Regions from separate parts of the Homo sapiens genome. Here region 1 is linked to region 2. Evidence: promoter capture Hi-C in 16 types of primary human blood cells and fetal thymus (Javierre and others, 2016). All regions are on one chromosome and are shown on one strand. Each heading gives the region's core, a stretch centred on a gene start or on the middle of the fragment in contact. The rest is flanking DNA. Distances are from core to core; before and after follow the strand shown.

What was found. Contacts are between HindIII fragments. The CHiCAGO score rates a contact against its expected background, and 5 or more counts as called.
Region 1: a fragment that was not itself captured here is called in contact with the fragment with the promoter of TBCE in region 2 in 2 of 17 cell types (non-activated CD4 T cells and total CD8 T cells); the score reaches 5.8 in non-activated CD4 T cells.

The regions. Positions count from the first base shown.
Region 1 is chr1:235,259,209-235,261,950 of GRCh38, reverse strand. ARID4B (AT-rich interaction domain 4B) reads left to right here. Exons shown (of 24, transcript NM_016374.6): 3 at 1,199-1,309. Among named protein-coding and RNA genes, the nearest start is that of ARID4B, 68 kb to the left of the region's middle. The HindIII fragment of the contact is 2,727 bases long and covers 107-2,742 here.
Region 2 is chr1:235,365,878-235,368,685 of GRCh38, reverse strand. It overlaps TBCE (tubulin folding cofactor E), which reads right to left and starts at 1,259. Exons shown (of 17, transcript NM_003193.5): 1 at 1,182-1,259. It overlaps LOC124904559 (a long non-coding RNA gene), which reads left to right and starts at 1,266. Exons shown (of 2, transcript XR_007066957.1): 1 at 1,266-1,476; 2 at 2,063-2,333. RefSeq lists enhancers at 960-1,299, 839-1,552. The HindIII fragment of the contact is 3,498 bases long and covers 1,248-2,808 here.

The DNA of each region.
Region 1 (2,742 bases), core at 221-2,720, 110 kb after region 2:
AGTAATTCATTCAATATAGTGAATTTCCCCCAACTCCTGCCTCCTTTCCTTTTGGTGGAACGTCCTGGGATGTTAGTACTTTTTATAAAGCACTTTGGAAAAAGCTTACTTCCATGATTTTCCTTTGGCTATGGAATTACTATAAGCAGAAGAACTCCTTAGAAATAAAAATGTAGAAATGTACCTGAATGTAAAACGTAAGAGCAGCTATTAAAAACTAAATCACAACTGAGGAAACATAAATATTAGTTAAGGTAGAAGAGTAAATATCCAGCGAATCCCTCCTATTAAAGCATTTAAGATATTTTGGCTTCAAAGTTTTGAGACTTTCCAGATGACTTTCTTCATATAGTTTTCACTAGTAGTTTAAATATACTAACTTTTCTCCCTTGTATGCTATACTACATTCTTTTTTGTTTGCTTTTTTGAGACAGGGTCTTACTCTGTGGCCCAGGCTAGAGTTCAGTGGCACGATCACTTTTCACTCGAGTCTCGACCTCTTGGGCTCAAGCACTCCTCCCACTTCAGTCTCCCAAGTAGCTAGGAGTACAGGCGCATGGCACCATAGCCAGCCAGTTTTTATTTTTTTATTTTGTAGAGTTGAGTTTTCCCTATGTTGCTTGGGGTGGTCTCAAACTCCTGGGCTCAAGTGATCCTCCAGCCTTGGCCTTCCAAAGTTCTGGGATTATAGGCAGGAACCACCACACCAGGCACTACACTAAACTACCTTAGACTTTTCTAGATAGAGATATAACAGAGCTATTCTGAATCTGGGTGACTGCCAAGATACAGCCTAAATATTAGAAGATTTCCCCCCCACCCCAGAATTTGAGCTTTAAAGATCTGCCTTCTGGCCAACGGACCCTTTTCTTGTAAGTGGTCATAGAATAAATAAATATTTGAATGAATGAGTGACTAGAGGGGTATACTTGTGAGTGAGCTAATTCATATCATGGACCATATGTATTTAATGGAAATAAGATACCTTTATATTTTATGTGATGTACATTTAAATAGTCTTTATGATAAACATTTTACTTGTTTTTTAATTTATAGTATTTTATAGATTGGTCTTGTTAACATACATTTCATATTTATAACTGTTGTAGCTTAACAAGATTAGGCTCACTATTCTGAGGTCTGATTATGGGAAAGAATTAGAGAGTTTAAATCTAATTATATTTCTTTGCATTTTTAGGCCCTTGATGAGCCTCCCTATTTGACAGTGGGCACTGATGTGAGTGCTAAATACAGAGGAGCCTTTTGTGAAGCCAAGATCAAGACAGCAAAAAGACTTGTCAAAGTCAAGGTACAGTATTTATAGATTTCATAAATTGTATGTTCAGCATTTGATATGTAAACTTTTATTTGGTGAGTGTATTTAAGATTTTTCTGCAAAATAAGTTTCTAGGAGTGAAGGTTGTAAAAATACCTCAAAACAAAGCATTTTTTGTTATTTTAAAAGTATTATAATTGGAAAGAAATTAGATTATCACAGTTGGTATTTTGAATGCCATTTCACTATAGACGTCTTATTGTTTGTATAGTGTTTTAGAGCTGGAAAGGAAGTTAGAAGTCATCTAGTTTAATTGCTTCATTTTATTACAAGAAAAATGAGGCTCGGAGAGGGTTAGTGATTTCTCCAAGGCCATTATGCCAAATTCATGGCAGAATTGGAACTACCATAGTTCATCAATTTTAAGGCATCACCCCCTCTATTTCAGCCATAAAATTAGAATGTGACTTGTAATTGATGGTGCCTTAGATAACAGTGAAATAAGGTACATCTAGTTGTTGACTCCTTATGCTCTGCCTTTCTTGAAACATCTTTCTAAAGTACTTGAGTTTTGTCTTAATATAGAAAAAGGAGTGTAATTGCTTCCATTTTAATAAATTATCAGCACTGAAAAATACCAGACAAGTGAACTTGAATATAGACATTTATTCATTTGTCAATAATTTATTGAGTGACAAACCTTTTGCAGGGAACTTTTAGGTGGGAAGGAGGATGGGGATATTAGGATGAGATTGACCTGATCTGTCCTCAAGGAATTTATAATCTAGATTAGCAGATACCTTTTAAGCCATTGGTTTTTATTTCACCAATTACATAGACTGTAGAGGTGTTGTGCTTCTGTGGAGGGTATCAGTCTCTTCTGGAGCTTTTACTGTTCCTATATTCCTTATGCATGGATGTGTTGAAAAAGCTACCTGGGTGATTCTAATTTACACTCCTGGTTAGGAACCATTGTGATAAGTCCTTTAAATTAACTACAAACTGGTAGGGGGCTAGTCTTGGCCCCACCCTACCTTCAGTTTCCACATGCTTGGTGGTTGGTGCTTTTATAGTGTGCATTTCCTGTTCTGGCTTCACACACTGGTATTCCCCAAGCACTGTTTTTTGCCAGTACTATCCTGTAGAGGAAGAGAAAGCCTTTTATCAATGTTTGTACTTTTTCAGGACTACTGGTAGCACATGTATCACCTTTGTGTGAAGTAGACAAAAGCCCTCTCTCCTGGTGGAAAGCCTTCTTAGCAGCGCTTGGCATGCAGATAGCAAGTTTGTGCCAGTTGGAAAAGACATTCTCTTTGGACTGGAGCTGTGTCACTCCAGGACCCATGCTTTGGCCCACAAAGCAAAGGCTGGATTTAAGCCCCATCTTGCATCCTTAGCTGCACATTTCCTGTGTAATGAATGAACTAGGAAAATGACATGTAGCAGTCCTGCCATTTCTTGCTGTA
Region 2 (2,808 bases), core at 10-2,509:
CTCGGGAGGCTGAGGTGGGAGATATGCTTGAACCTGGGAGGCGTGGTTGCAGTGAGCTGAGATTGGGCCACTGCACACCAGCCTTGGGCGACAGAGCAAGACTCCATATCAAAAAAAAAAAAAAAAAAAAAAAGCAGGCTGTCCACTTAGATTAAAAAAAAAACCCAGAGATATGCTGTTTACAACAGTATATAAAATATGAGCATACAGAAAAGTTAAAACTTAAGAATATGAAAAACGTTTGAAGCAAGTATCAAAACACAGCGGCCGTGGCTAAATTAATGCCAGAGAAAAGAAAAGTCTTCTCTCTTCATCTCTACCTCCACTAACTTTCTCTAACAGTTTGGCAATTTGTTAACCCCGTCTTCCTGCCAGGACTGCTTCTCTGAGGATAAGGCTGTCACACCATCATTTGGATCCACCCACAACTTAGAACAGTCCCCATTTGGTAGTAAACACCAAGTAAAAATAGTTACTTTAGGCCGGGCGCGGTGGCTCACGCCTGTAATCCCAGCAGTTTGGGAGGCCGAGGCGGGTGGATCATCTGAGATCAGGAGTTCGAGAGCAGCCTGGCCAACATGGAGAAACCCTGTCTCTACTAAAAATACAAAAATTAGCCGAGCGTGGTGGCACGCGCCTGTAATCCCAGCTACTCGGGAGGCTGAGGCAGCAGAATCGCTTGAACCCAGGAGGCGGAGGTTGCAGTAAGCCGAGATCAGAGATCCGCGCCACTGCAGTCCAGCCTGGGCGACAGAGCAAGACTGTCTCAAAAGAACAAACAGTTACTTTAAGTGCTCTCCACCTATTTAACGTTATTTCTCTGTCATCACCAATGTTAACTGATTCGGAAGGACGAGGCTGTTCCTCTAAGGTGACACCTTGTAAAAGTCGTTGGTCGCCTGTACCATTTTCACCTCTTCCAAAGTGACATGCCAATTCTCTGAGAGAAGCTTAAAATGCTAGAGATCACGTGCGGCTACTCCTAAATAAGGCCTTCCAGGAGGCGCAGGGTGGCCCCAACCCAGCCGGCTGGACCGCCTCCCAGCGCACGGAGCAGGCAACGCCCGGCTCTGGCAATCTGGGAAGATTCCAGGAAAGGAAGAAAAGGCCAAGAGCACTGCAGGGTGACGCACCGGCCAGGAATGCTCGTTCCGAAAGCTCCCCGAACCTCTGAAGCTCACCTGCCCGCGGAGACTCCAGGTGTTCCCAGCAGCAGCCCCTCCAGCCAACTGCCCAGCAGCGAAGCTTGAGGCTCTGGCCGGAAGTGCTGTAGGAAGTCCCGCCTCCACCGGAGTGAGGTACGGCTGCTGGAGCATAGACGAGAATGTCAGCGACAGTATTGGAGGCCAGAGGAGTGGTCAGCCCACCCAAGCCCCGCCTCTGGGCGGGGGCCCAAGCGATTTCCGAGTGCTGAAACCTGGGATGACAGAGCAGCCCAGGGAAAGCGCGTGTTCCAGTTTACTAGATACCACAGAAGTGAGTTACAAATCCTGTAAGAGGTTCAGTTCCATGCGTATTGAGAGTCTACCACGTAGGCAGCATGCGGTGGTCAAAGAGAAGAATATAGTGTTGATACCGCCAAAACTAAAAAAAAAAAAAAAATTACCTAGTTAAAGCATAAGGCAGAATGAAAGTAAATGCAGTGATAGAAAAAATAATAGAAAAAGCAACTATCCTAGACATGTTAATTTCTGTTGAAACCGCCTTTGCAAAATTTTGACAGTAAGAGAAATCTGACATGGTTTACTCCTATCTTGATTCTAGCCTCACAGACTGGCTGTCTTTGCTCATTCCTGGGCACAGGACAAACTAACTTTGGGAGAAATTTAGTTTATAGTTTAAATGATAATAACCCTTCCCCAAAACTGCCCTTTTAAAACTAAATGAAAGGCCACCAAGTTAGGAGAATGAGAGGGTCCTGAATTCTTCTAAGTTGTAATTGTAGTTAAATGATTACCACCCATTATTCCACAGGTCACAAATTCGCATCTTCCCCAATCATTCCTGCAGATAACATCACTGTTGTAGAACCTAAGATTGGCCTTTTGAGATGTCTTTTCAGGTTTTTGCATTTCTGACAAGTGGATGGCCCCACCCTGACTCATCAACCTGGGGATCCACGAACCAACTCAGTGCAAGAGGACAGCTTCTACTTCTTATGATTTCACCTCTGACCCAACCAGTCAGCACTCCCCATTCCCTGGCCCCGTACCTGTCAAACTATCTGAAAAACCCCCTAACCTCTGAGCCTTTGGTGAGATGGATTTGAGTAACAACTCTGTCTCCCACGTGGCATGGCCAGCCTCGCGTCAATTAAACTTTCTTTACTGCAATGCCATGGTTTCTGTCAATTAATTTTGTTTGTGCAGCAGGCAGAAAGAACCCATTGGTGGATACCACAGACTCCACAACAAGAGCAGTTTGGGTAGAGTGAGTGTTAGCATTCCAAAACCAGACTGAAGTGAGGTGAAGTGGAAAGGAAATTGAGGGAGCAAAGCCAAATGACTCTTCCAAGAAGTGACCTTCTAATTGTCATATTAAATGGACACAAACAGTCAGTATCCTGCTGGATGTCTCTACTGTTTTATACTTTGATAGTTCACTCCTTGAAACTAGAAACTAGATATTACAGTGATTGTTTTTTCTTTGGAAGAGGGGATTAAAAACCACATTGGAAATCTGATAAAAGCTATCTACCTACACACAAATTTTGCGTATGATTTCAAGGACTGATTAATCCTTTGAAGCCCATGAATAGGCCTCAAAGGAATCCATGGATCCCAAACTAAGACTCTCCTCAGCAGGGCA